Regions from separate parts of the Homo sapiens genome. Here regions 1, 2 and 4 are each linked to region 3. The links are contacts of gene promoters, found by promoter capture Hi-C in blood cells and fetal thymus (Javierre and others, 2016). All regions are on one chromosome and are shown on one strand. The core of a region is centred on a gene start or on the middle of the fragment in contact, and the rest is flanking DNA. Distances in the headings are between cores, read along the strand shown. Region 1 overlaps FMN1 (formin 1). Region 2 overlaps FMN1 (formin 1). Region 3 holds the start of SCG5-AS1 (SCG5 antisense RNA 1). Region 4 overlaps FMN1 (formin 1).

Region 1 (2,700 bases), core at 136-2,635, 210 kb before region 3:
AATCGTGGCGGTCCGTTTCATCTTAACGTTTCCATTCAGGTTTCACCTCCTTTTCCATAAGGCCTTGGTGTGAGCTGAGATTGAATGTTTAATTGAAGAGGACATAATTTTCACACATACAGCAAAGATTTGATGAGGCTTTGAGGTTTATTGTAGCCATTAAAGTGTCGTAGCTGCTGGCAAAATCCCAGAAAATGTCTAAAGCTAAACCAGATGTGATTAGCAAATTTCAAGAAGTATCAGGCCCTAGATCTCCAGGCAGGCAGAGTCTTTTAAAAAAAAAAAAAAATAGTATTAACACACCTTAACCTAATGTGAATTAACCTATGGTTATTGGTCATACTAATGTCACTGATTTAAGTAGAAGTTGTCATTAAGCATCTTTCAGAGAGGCAAGAACTTTGAATGGCATTTTTATGCAGGTAAACGTAGCATGGAATTGATAATAGTATCAACTGCAACTTATTGTGTCATTATTATCTATCAAGTGCTTTATCTATATCACCTCTTTTAATTCTGCAGTGACCTTGTGAGGCAGATACTATTTTTGACTTCTCACAAGATAAGAAAGCTGAAGTTTGTGGTGCTCAAGTAATTTGCCAGTGTTTCAGAGGTGATGATCTAGTCAAGTTTTGAAACTAGATACGACTTCTAAGGCATGTGTTCAATACATATCACGCCTGTGACCCAGAAGTCACCACATCTGATTGGAGATCAGACAGAAAGTTTTGGCATTCAAAATGTGAAGCCTCATGAAGAAAAAAATTAGAGTTACTGAACATATATACACAAGCATGCACACGTGTGCACACACTCCCAAAACCACACATGTAGACTGTCAGATCAGATAGAGTCACAGGAAGGAACTTGCTTTGGGTTGGAATTGGAAAGGGGAAGAAGTCCAGGTAGATGGATTGTCAAATAGACATACAAATAGGCACATTACATAGGACTAAGATCAGGCTTTGAGTTCAGATGTGTATGTTTTACTGGTTCAGTGAAAGTAACAGCTTGTCAAGTAGCATAATCGTAGAAAGTATTCACTTTCTCACCTGTAAAATGGGACAGTTATAGGACCTGCATCATAGGAAATAATGTCTGCACAGTTTCTTAGTGAGGGCAGCTTCAATAAAGCTGATTAAGGGCATGTACCTTTCACTGGAAAGTGCACAGCCTGTATAATCAGCCGGTGTTGCTGAGAGGCCAGCTGGCTATGTTTGTGGAGTATCTAATTCACAGAGCACTTGTGCTTGCTTCTCTACATTGTAAAGAGAGAACCAAGTTCTTGGTGCTTGGGAACATGTTCCATATTTTGTTTATTGTTCTACATCCCTTAACAAGACAATAATTTCAATTTCCCTGATACTGTGAAGTTGTAAGCAATAATTGAGAAAACACAAACAATGGCAATAGTTACTTTCATTCTCCCTCTTTGTCCTTGCTGGCTGGAACTCTCAGGGTGTTCTTACCCACCCATATGTGGTAGGCAGAATAATGCCCCCCAAGGATGTCCAAACCCTAATCCCTAGAATCTGTGAACATGTTGCCTTACATGGCAAAAAGGGACTTTGCTGATGTTGACATGGGGAGATTATCCTGGACCGTCCAAGTGGGCCTAATCTAATCACATGAATCTTTAAAGTCAGTCTTTAAACGCTGAGGACTTTCCCTGGCTATGATCAGAGGGAGATATAACGACGTAAGAATGATCAGAGAGATGTAATGTCGCTGGCTTTGAAGATGGAGGAAGTGGGCCGTGAGCCAAGGAATGTGGGAAGCCTCTAGAAGTGGAAAAGGCAAGGAACAGATTCTCCCTAGAGCCTCTAAAAGGGAGTACAGCCCTGTCAGCACCTTGAGTTTAGCCTGTGAGTCCCATGTCAGACTTCTAACATATAGAACTAAAAGGTGATATATTTCTGGTGTTTTAAGCCTCCTAAGTTTGTGCTAATTTATTATAGTAGCAATCAGAAACTAATACACCAAGGAGTGGACTCTTCTTTCTGATTGCACCAGTTAATACCAGAGACAGACACACACACATACACAAACACACACATGCGCGTGCAGCATTGCTGAAACTATAGATGTAGGATTCGTCAAATAGTAGCACCTAAAAATATTACCTGAAATGTGAACTGGAACTGTTGTTCTCTGAAAGAGTCTATGATCAAATAAACCTGGACATGCTCTGTACGAAAATCATATCCTAGGGATTCAAAGCACATGAGCTTATTAAAGCCTCTGGGAAGTTCTGTAGTTAAAAAAAAGTTTAATGCTGTTTAAAACAGCATTTCCTAACTTAAAGCATGAAACATTGGCTTGCTTTCTTTTCCCTTTCATTGTCTACTTAGTAATATTTTTACAGAGCATAAGTTGTGTAAAAGGTACTTTAAGAAGAAAGGATATTGATTGTACTAGCAACACGGTTGTTGGTGAAATGATATTACTGGGTCCTGCCTGCAGGAGTCAGGATCTCTAGTAACGTAGGGGAGGGCAGGTCTGACTTAGCAGAAACAAGGCCACATGTCATTACTTACCGCTTGATCTCATTCTTTTTTTTTTTTTTTTTTTTTTTTTTTTTTTTTGAGATAGGTTCTTGCTCTATTGCCCAGGCTTGAGAGTAACAGCACAATCATGGCTCACTGAAACCTCAATATTCTGAGCTCCAGCAATCCTCCTACCTCAGCCTCCTAAGCAGCT
Region 2 (2,700 bases), core at 96-2,595, 240 kb before region 3:
AGGAGAAACACAAGGTATAGGTTGTAGGAGAACTATGACCATTTTGAAGAGGCTTGTTACAGAGCTCTTCAGCGGGAGCAGATCTGTACGGTCCCCTGGCCTTGCCTCCGAGTGGTCCTTCCACGCTCCACACCCCTCTCTACTGGCTCCCCTTCTTTCCACTTCTTGCAGTTTTTTTCATAGACTTGGTGTTTGCTCTCAAGGATGACCTCATTGTTGGGAGGGAAAACTGTGGGAAGATGTTTCTGCCTTCCCTTTCCTCAACTCTCAGATTGTACTACTGCCTCTTCCCATGAACCCCATGTTATCGTTGCCTTTGTAGAGGTCACGGAGTAGGTTTGTCAGAGTTTTGTGGGATATAGGTGACATGAGAGTTTCAAAAAACCAAGTCCTTCTATATTTCTTTCCCTGCTCTGTTCTCTTTCTCTTACTGATTGAATTTCTGTCGAGTTCTGAAAAATACCAGTATTTTGGGCAAAGCAGCTAAGTTTTATTTTGGCTGTTGCAGAGTTAACATTGTAAACAAAATAATTTCTGCTAATAGAGTCAAGTAATCCTATCAAACTTTGCTTTCCTGGGCTGGACCAGACTATATCTAGTCCATTTGCAAAACATTATTACATACCCGCTTTGTGCAAGAGGCTTACATCAGTCACTTAAGGAAATAAAAAGAAGAATAAAACAGGCTACGTACAAATCATTCTCAAAACCACCGTCAGCCGAAACCTGGTGAGCCAACCCAACCCTACCTACCTGTGGCATCTCCCACACTTCGGATGACCAGATTTACTTTGGCTAATCTTAACAGACTATACAAGGTATGCCTTTCTCACCACCGTGTCCCATGCTTCTTGCTCAGAGGTGCTCCCTCAGTCAAAGAGAACAACTCCCTTAAATAACTCTGCCTGTCTTTTTACTCATTAGAAGCCCTTCGAACAGCAAGTGCATTCTTTGTTTATATGGGCATGGTACACTTGGAGAGAGAAGTGTTCAGGGTTGAAAAATGGCTGGAGAGCTGAGAGAATCCTGCATGTTCTTTCTACTTAACCCTGGTCTTGTGAAAAGCCATCTCTTACCCGGAGGGGGAATTTTCCCTGTTGTATGAGACCCTGACCCCTTGCATGTGCCCTAAAGCAGGCACATAGTTTTTATGTGTGCCTGTTAGTTTGAATTTGTGATACTGATCTGCTTTTTGTCCCTGCTGACGGTTATTATATCTTAATGGGCGAAACACTACTCTAATGATCCTTGTGTATATAATTCTTGTGGTACAGAGCAGGCACCAGAGGACCACATAAAAATGTTTGCCTCAATTTCCCTGCAAAAAAGAAGCCCAGAAACCAGACTTGACCAAGTAACAGATTTTTAAAGGTAAAGGAATCTAATAAAATTACCAGCTTTTCACAGCGTGTGTCTACTTCCTTTTGACATATTGTGAGGTGTAGGTGAAATATTCTAACCGAACTGACAGTGTGAGTGGGACAACTAAGGAGGGAAGGAGATAAAAGTAAAAACCACCAGCAGTGATTGATATTGCAGTAGCAATGAGCTGTTGGGGTCTCCCCTTTGTGGACTTGACACTTCACCTTTCTGACACCATCTGCAGGAGTGTTAGTATAATGAGACCTATACAGATGGAAACAAAAGTAGGATTACTTGGAATTACTGTATCAGAGCTTTGAGGCTTGCTGTAAAATTGCATAGGCTTGTATTTGTTGGTTCAGTTTATGAGCGGTGTGCCTGTGTGCACACACATGCGTGGAAGAGACAGAGACAGAAAGTGAGTGTTTTCAAAGTATAAAATGGAGGGAGCGATCTGATCTTGGGTGACGCCGAAAATAGTTTAGTTGAAGACTGACTTCTTTCCACATTGTGATCATTATGATTACAAATTAGTTAACTAATTAATTGGGCTTATGTAATGGCTAATAAGTTTAATGGTAAGTGCTTGCAAGAATGACTTAATCGGAGAGCATTCATTGATTCTCTAATACGTTGTTCCAGTATTTTGAGAATAGAATTATCAGGTGTGGATTCTGGCTCTCTAGGAACCTAAACTATATTTGGTGACTAAGACATGGGATTATGTACATGTAAGGCAGTTCTCTTAGGCATCCTAGGACTTGGTAGGCCTTTTTATTTTTCAGACTTCTGGCTGATACCCTAACCTTCCCAGGCCAATATTATTAGAAATAATACAACTAATTTAATCTCCATAAGTTCTAGGCTCAGTATCAATCTCTTGATATTGCTTCTGCTACCTCTGAATTTTCTTTTACTTTTTAGATTTTATTTTTAAGATCCTTCCGTGGAAGAGGAGAAACTTCAGTGGAATACTTGGCATTGGCCCTAAGTTCATCTGTTTATCTACTTCTTTTACCTGTCCTTTCCTCTCTACTCCATTCCTTTCCCAGTCCCTGGGGGACAGATCAGTAGTCATGCTCACCTCTTAGACTCCTCTGCCTGTTTCTGGGGGGATGGTACAAAGCTCTTCCCCTAAACCTAGGCTCAAAGCCTCAGAGTGGTTTCAGGCTAAGTCCCCAGAGCTAGTTAGCAATGTCACTATAATAGTGCTCTGTAGTGTCTTTCTTTTTTGCCCTATCCTTTCTGTCCACACTATTCAAGTTTTTGCTACCTCTTGCCCATTACAATAGATTCTAAATTAGTCTTTTCAAATTTTGACTTTTTGTGTGTGTAATA
Region 3 (2,700 bases), core at 51-2,550:
CTTGATATAATTTGACTCTCTAAAATGTGCATAAAAAACAAAATCCGAATTAACAGAGGTTTCCGATTATAGTACCATCTCACTTATCTCTTTAGAGAGAACGTGCTGTTTCATGTAGTATTCAGATCACTGAAGCATCGGTTTAAGATCAAGATTTATTTAACCATTTTAAAGGAGAATTTTCCACTATGAACATTAGGTAAATACTTTAAACAGCAGGAGAATATGACTTTGCCTGTTCTTGATAATTTGGGACTATTACTGGGAATATCAATGACTATACAGTGTTGTAACAGTGTATTCTCAGAGTATTAAAGGGCATTCGGATATAAAACTATATTAAATGGGCCGGGTGCGGTGGCTCACACCTATAATGCCAGCACTTTGGGAGGCAGAGGCGGGTGGATCACAAGGTTAGGAGTTCAAGACCAGCCTGGCCAAGATGGTGAAACCCCATTTCTACTAAAAATACAATTACAGGCAGGCGCCTGTAATCCCAACTACTCAGGAGGCTGAGGCAGGAGAATCACTTGAACTTGGGGAGTAGAGGTTGCAGTGAACCGAGATCATGCCACTGCACTCCAGCCTGGGCGGCAAAGTGAGACTCCGTCTCAAAACAAACAAACAAACAAACCTATATTAAATGGTCCCAGATGCAATAGTTTTTAATGTTCTTTGTCACCTCACTCCTTCTAAGTTATTAATTCTAGTCATCCCAAATCCTTTCCATAATGAAATACAATAAATTGAGAGTGCGCCTAGGCCCTGCAAGTCTCTTCTAATTTTACCCTCCCCCGCACAACACACACACACACACACACACACACACACACACACGGGGATCTTATCCAAATGTGGATTCTGATTCAAGGTGAAGGGTGGGGCCTGAGATTCTGCATTCCTCACAAGCTCCCAGATAGTGCAGATGCTGCTGGTCCATGAGCCACATTTTCAGTAATAAGGGGCTAGAAAATGAGAGAGCCAGGCTTATTAAAATTATATATAAAATGAGATAAAATTAGCTCCGAGAGAGTGCCTAGGTGATCTTGCTTTATGGAATTTGTGACATCGGTGTGGCTGCTAAGAACCTTCTTAAAAGTCTGCAGTTTCAGATAAAGGAGCTGTCACTGCCGTTGTAGTCCTTTTACTTAAAGTTTTACTCTACAGAGGCACTTGCTCACACTTTGCAAGGAAAGGATCCTGCTGCCCCATTTTTTACTTACGCTAGTTCTGTGGGAATTAGAGGTAAACACCTCCCTTGAACGTGAGTTCTCATAGTATAAGCGATGTCCGTTGGAGAGCCTGATGATGTCCCACCACGATGCAACGGCTCTCCTGGCTGGGGCTAGTGGAAGCAGTTTTGATGGAAGTTAAGGTTGGTCAGAAATTAAGAACATAAATGGGACCTGCGTTACTTCGTCACTCTGTCTCTTTTTTTTTTTTTTTTTTTTGTGATGTTATGGTTTCAACAGTTTCAAAGTGCTTTCATCCTTATTAAAAACGTCCTAGTGAGGTCAGTAGGACAAGAATCACTATTCATCATTCTAAGTGAGAAAGTGAGACCTGGGGAAAGGTTTCTTGCCTAAAGCCACTCAGCAAGTTGGTGCTATTTTGGATTCCAGCCCTGTGTTCACTCTACAGTGGCACTGAGAGAGCCCCCACGAGGCCTTCTGCGTCCATTCATACCCTTTCCAGTGCGTTTCCGTCTTCCAAAGATGAGCTGGAGCTCCACAGCCACAGTTAGTAGAATGACCTGTCGGGGTACCTGGGGTCTCTCATAGTTTCCAGGTCACTCAGGGGATCTCCGGTGTCAGTGACTACTGCAGAGCCAGGCCCCGGCAAAATGGCTCTGGGATGGGACGCCACCTGTGGGCCTCGCCACCATGGTTCCTTCGCACCTGAGTGCCCACCTCACGCTGGAGGTTTGGAACATCCGGACAACCCCTGCCCTCCAGACTCTGCCACACAACTTGGGAACACCCTGACAAGCCCGCAGCCAGCATCGTCCCATTCGCACCCCTCACGCTGCCTGCAGCCCTGGGGATTCATGCAATTGGGCACTGGCGCTGGGCAATAAAGAATTGTGGTGGGGCAGCCTGGTGCCAGGGAGCCAGTCGCCCACCTCGTAAAAAGGGAGTTCTGTGAGGAGCGTCTGGCAGGGAGCGGGCACAGGCCCCTGAATACCAGCCATTCAGCTGAAGGGAACGGGTCCAGCAGTTTTCACTTATGTTACCACAAACAGCAGATGCTAAAAATACACTGCGGTCTCGATACATCATTCAGAAAGCGACGGACCAGTTTTCCTTTTGTCAGCGGTCTGGGAGCCTGAAGCAGTCGGATGGGGCATTCCAGACACCGCCTGGCCTCCTTTGGTTTCCCCTCAGACTCTGACAGAGCTGAAGGTGCCAGCGCGAGAGCGCCCGAGGAGACCAGGAGAGAAGGTGGAGAGGCGGCAAGGCTCCCCAGGCTAAGGGAAGGCAAAGCGGAGTGGGGCGAGGAAGGGGCGGGGTGGCTCCTTCTGGAGGCCACAGAACAGCCTGGGACTCCCTGAGGCGACACCGGCCGCAGGCACCAGGCACTGGGGGCTAAGAGAAACCCCGAGACCCAGAAATCTCCTTCCTAAGGTCCAACTTGCCCCAAAAGTTGTTTTTTCTTTTTTTTTTTTCACTACTTGAGGTAAACACATACACAATTTTACAA
Region 4 (2,700 bases), core at 118-2,617, 140 kb before region 3:
TGTTAATGTATCAGTCTAAAAGCAGGACATAGGATGGGCATAGTAATCTCTTGCTTTTCAGTTCTACTCTACTCTTCACTATTTTGTTGCAAACAAAAGATGGAAGATTAGAAATTTCTGTGCCAAAAAACAGGCACTTAATGAGTAGGGACTGTGTTCTGCTAACATGGGTTCTTCTGTTGTGTACTTTTCCATCTGTCAAATAAGTACACAAGGCTGGGCACGGTGGCTCACGCCTGTAATCCCAGCACTTTGGGAGGCTGAGGCAGATGGATCACTTGAGGTCAGGAGTTTGAGACCAGCCTGGCCAACATGGTGAAACCCTGTCTCTACTAAAGATACAAAAATTAGCCAGCCATGGTGCGTGCCTATAATCCCAGCTACTTGGGAGGCTGAGGCTGGAGAATCACTTGAACCCGGGAGATGGAGGTTGCAGTGAGCTGAGATTGCATCACGGCACTCCAGCCTGGGTGAAAGAACAAGACCCTGTCTCAAAAGAAAAAAAAAAATAAGTATTTGAGTACCTGCTAGGTAATAGTTGAGAGAAAAACTCTGAAAACAGATTTTGGTTGCAACTCTGAAAGGAGCACAGAGTCCAGTGGGAAAAGCCAGCTGCAAGCCAGTGACCTTGACATAGCATTCTGTGTGCTGTGATAAGGAATTGTGGGGAGATAGTGTGTTTGGATCTCCACAGAAAGAACGGCTCACCACATTATGGGGGAGAGGCATGGAGGGCCCCTCAGAGGAGATTTTCAAGCTTGGTTTTCAAAGAAAGAGAAGACATTCAAACAGAAGGGTAGGAGAAGGGAGAAGGGCAAGGAAGAGAAGGCATTAGAAACAGAAGGAGCAAAGTGCCCAAAAATAAAGACACCATGCAGCAAGTTAAGTCCAGAGACCAGCCATGAGTCCCACGCAGCAGGAGCTCTGGGGATGATAGTATGGGGATGGCAGGAGGCAGGTGTGAGGGGCACACTGTGAACTGCAAATGCACTTTGTCTTCAGAGGGGGAACCAGTGAGAACATTAAGCAGAAAAGGGGCATAGTTCACTTTGCCTTCTAAAATGGCAGTTTTGGTGGCAACAAAGAGAATTGAATTTACTGTGCAATGAGGGGAACCTGTTACAGGTCACCATATAGAGCCTAGAGGTTAAGGAAGGAATCTTAGCTCTCAGAAAACTTAACCTCTCAAAAAAAGACTCCTGTATCATTGTCTTTTATTTGGTATTGGGGAAGTGATCCAGTTAATCAGGTCAAAGATTACAGAACTCCATGGTCATTAAGGGGAAAAAACAGGTGAGAGTAATCATTAAGTACCTCTCCCCTCACATCCACCCCCATGACTCCCAGTTATTTGTTAAATTATAAATAAGTTTTTCTCTTTCTCCTGAGGATGAAATAAAACAAAATGAGCTGAAACAGCAAATAAAATGACTTTAGGTCAGACATAGGGAACCACCCTTTTGTAGAAAAGCCTTTTACAGGCCATGCTAAGGACATCAGCTCAGTGAGTGAAATGAAAAAAAAAAAAACACTAAAGTTTTGAGCATAAATGATAACAACCAAAATTCTTGTCTACTGAAAGCAGTTATGAACATTCTAAAGAAAGCATGTTGTGTGCAATTTTGTGATAACCATGCCAAAAAGTCAGAAAGCTAGAGTAGTGACTACTAGCATTTGCTTCTAGCCAATAGACAATAAATGGCTGCCATTCTGGAATGCCCATCATATGTCAGTCACTAGATTAATCTCACACGTTCAGTATATCTCATAGTCACAAGCACTTTGCAAGGTAGATCTTATTATTCCCATTTTACGGATAAGGCTCAGTGGAGTTAAGTGATTTTCTGACGATCACCCAGTTAATAAGTATCAGAGCAGAAATTAAACCCAGGTCCACCTGGTGCAAAACCCAAGCTCTTTCCTCTATGCTACACTTCATTTAACTCTGGCAAAACAGCCAACCCACTGGAAGCTTGAACCCCCAGCAGCCATGGCATGACGTTGAACTGTCAAAGACCTGACTGCAAAGACTGGCTGCAACTATGTGGGAGGGTAGGTATCATCATCTCCATTTGACAGAGCAGGAGACTGAAACACAGGACACTGTGATTGGCTCATGACACTCAGGTGACACAGCTAGGGTTAAAGCTTGGCAGTTAGTTATCATGAGTTCTGATTTGCATTCCTTGGGCCCATAGCCATGGAATAGAAAGCCATTTCTGCTTCACTTGGTAGGCTGTGGAACTATGAACTTCAGAATTGTTCTTGTGGAGCAATTGTATGATATATAGTTCCCGTATTGAAAAGCTAGAACTAGAACGTTGGAACACCGGGATTCTTATACTTGGCCCACAGTGACCTTATTTGTTGATGGTATTAGAATTTGAGTTTGTGACTCCAGTCTTTAAACATGGTTCTTCCAGGTCATGTATTTGTGTTTTGCTTAGAGCATCTTGAAGACTTAAAATGTGTAATGGCCTGGTTTAAAATTTTACACATTCAAGTAGGAGAAATATTTCATGCTGTTAGAGCTTCCAAGTCACACCATAAAGGTAGATGCCTTTTGTATCTGTACAAGGGCAAAATTAGGGAACATTTAAATCTCTAATTTCTTCTCATTTTCCTGAAGGCCCTTTTCCCTAAACCCTCAGAGTTTTCTGCAGTGTGCATTGGCTCTTAATAATACCTCTTTTTACATTT

The links. The method cuts DNA at HindIII sites, captures the fragments that hold promoters and counts their contacts. A CHiCAGO score of 5 or more calls a contact.
Region 1: a fragment that was not itself captured here is called in contact with the fragment with the promoter of SCG5-AS1 in region 3 in 3 of 17 cell types (M1 macrophages, M0 macrophages and M2 macrophages); the score reaches 8.2 in M1 macrophages.
Region 2: a contact is called between a fragment that was not itself captured here and the fragment with the promoter of SCG5-AS1 in region 3, in 5 of 17 cell types (M2 macrophages, M0 macrophages, endothelial precursors and 2 more). The highest score is 9.6, in M2 macrophages.
Region 4: a contact is called between a fragment that was not itself captured here and the fragment with the promoter of SCG5-AS1 in region 3, in 1 of 17 cell types (M1 macrophages). The highest score is 5.1, in M1 macrophages.

Annotation. Positions count from the first base shown.
Region 1 is chr15:32,883,395-32,886,094 of GRCh38, reverse strand. The region is part of intron 16 of FMN1 (formin 1); the gene reads left to right. Among named protein-coding and RNA genes, the nearest start is that of GREM1-AS1, 170 kb to the right of the region's middle. The HindIII fragment of the contact is 7,337 bases long and covers 1-2,700 here.
Region 2 is chr15:32,914,603-32,917,302 of GRCh38, reverse strand. The region is part of intron 10 of FMN1 (formin 1); the gene reads left to right. Among named protein-coding and RNA genes, the nearest start is that of GREM1-AS1, 200 kb to the right of the region's middle. The HindIII fragment of the contact is 4,132 bases long and covers 1-2,700 here.
Region 3 is chr15:32,671,665-32,674,364 of GRCh38, reverse strand. SCG5-AS1 (SCG5 antisense RNA 1) reads left to right here and starts at 1,300. Exons shown (of 4, transcript NR_135505.1): 1 at 1,300-1,375. All of the region lies in intron 10 of ARHGAP11A-SCG5 (ARHGAP11A-SCG5 readthrough), which reads right to left. The region is part of intron 2 of SCG5 (secretogranin V); the gene reads right to left. The HindIII fragment of the contact is 5,358 bases long and covers 1-2,700 here.
Region 4 is chr15:32,807,731-32,810,430 of GRCh38, reverse strand. The region is part of intron 17 of FMN1 (formin 1); the gene reads left to right. The region is part of intron 1 of LOC107984089 (a long non-coding RNA gene); the gene reads right to left. Among named protein-coding and RNA genes, the nearest start is that of GREM1-AS1, 90 kb to the right of the region's middle. The HindIII fragment of the contact is 1,215 bases long and covers 760-1,974 here.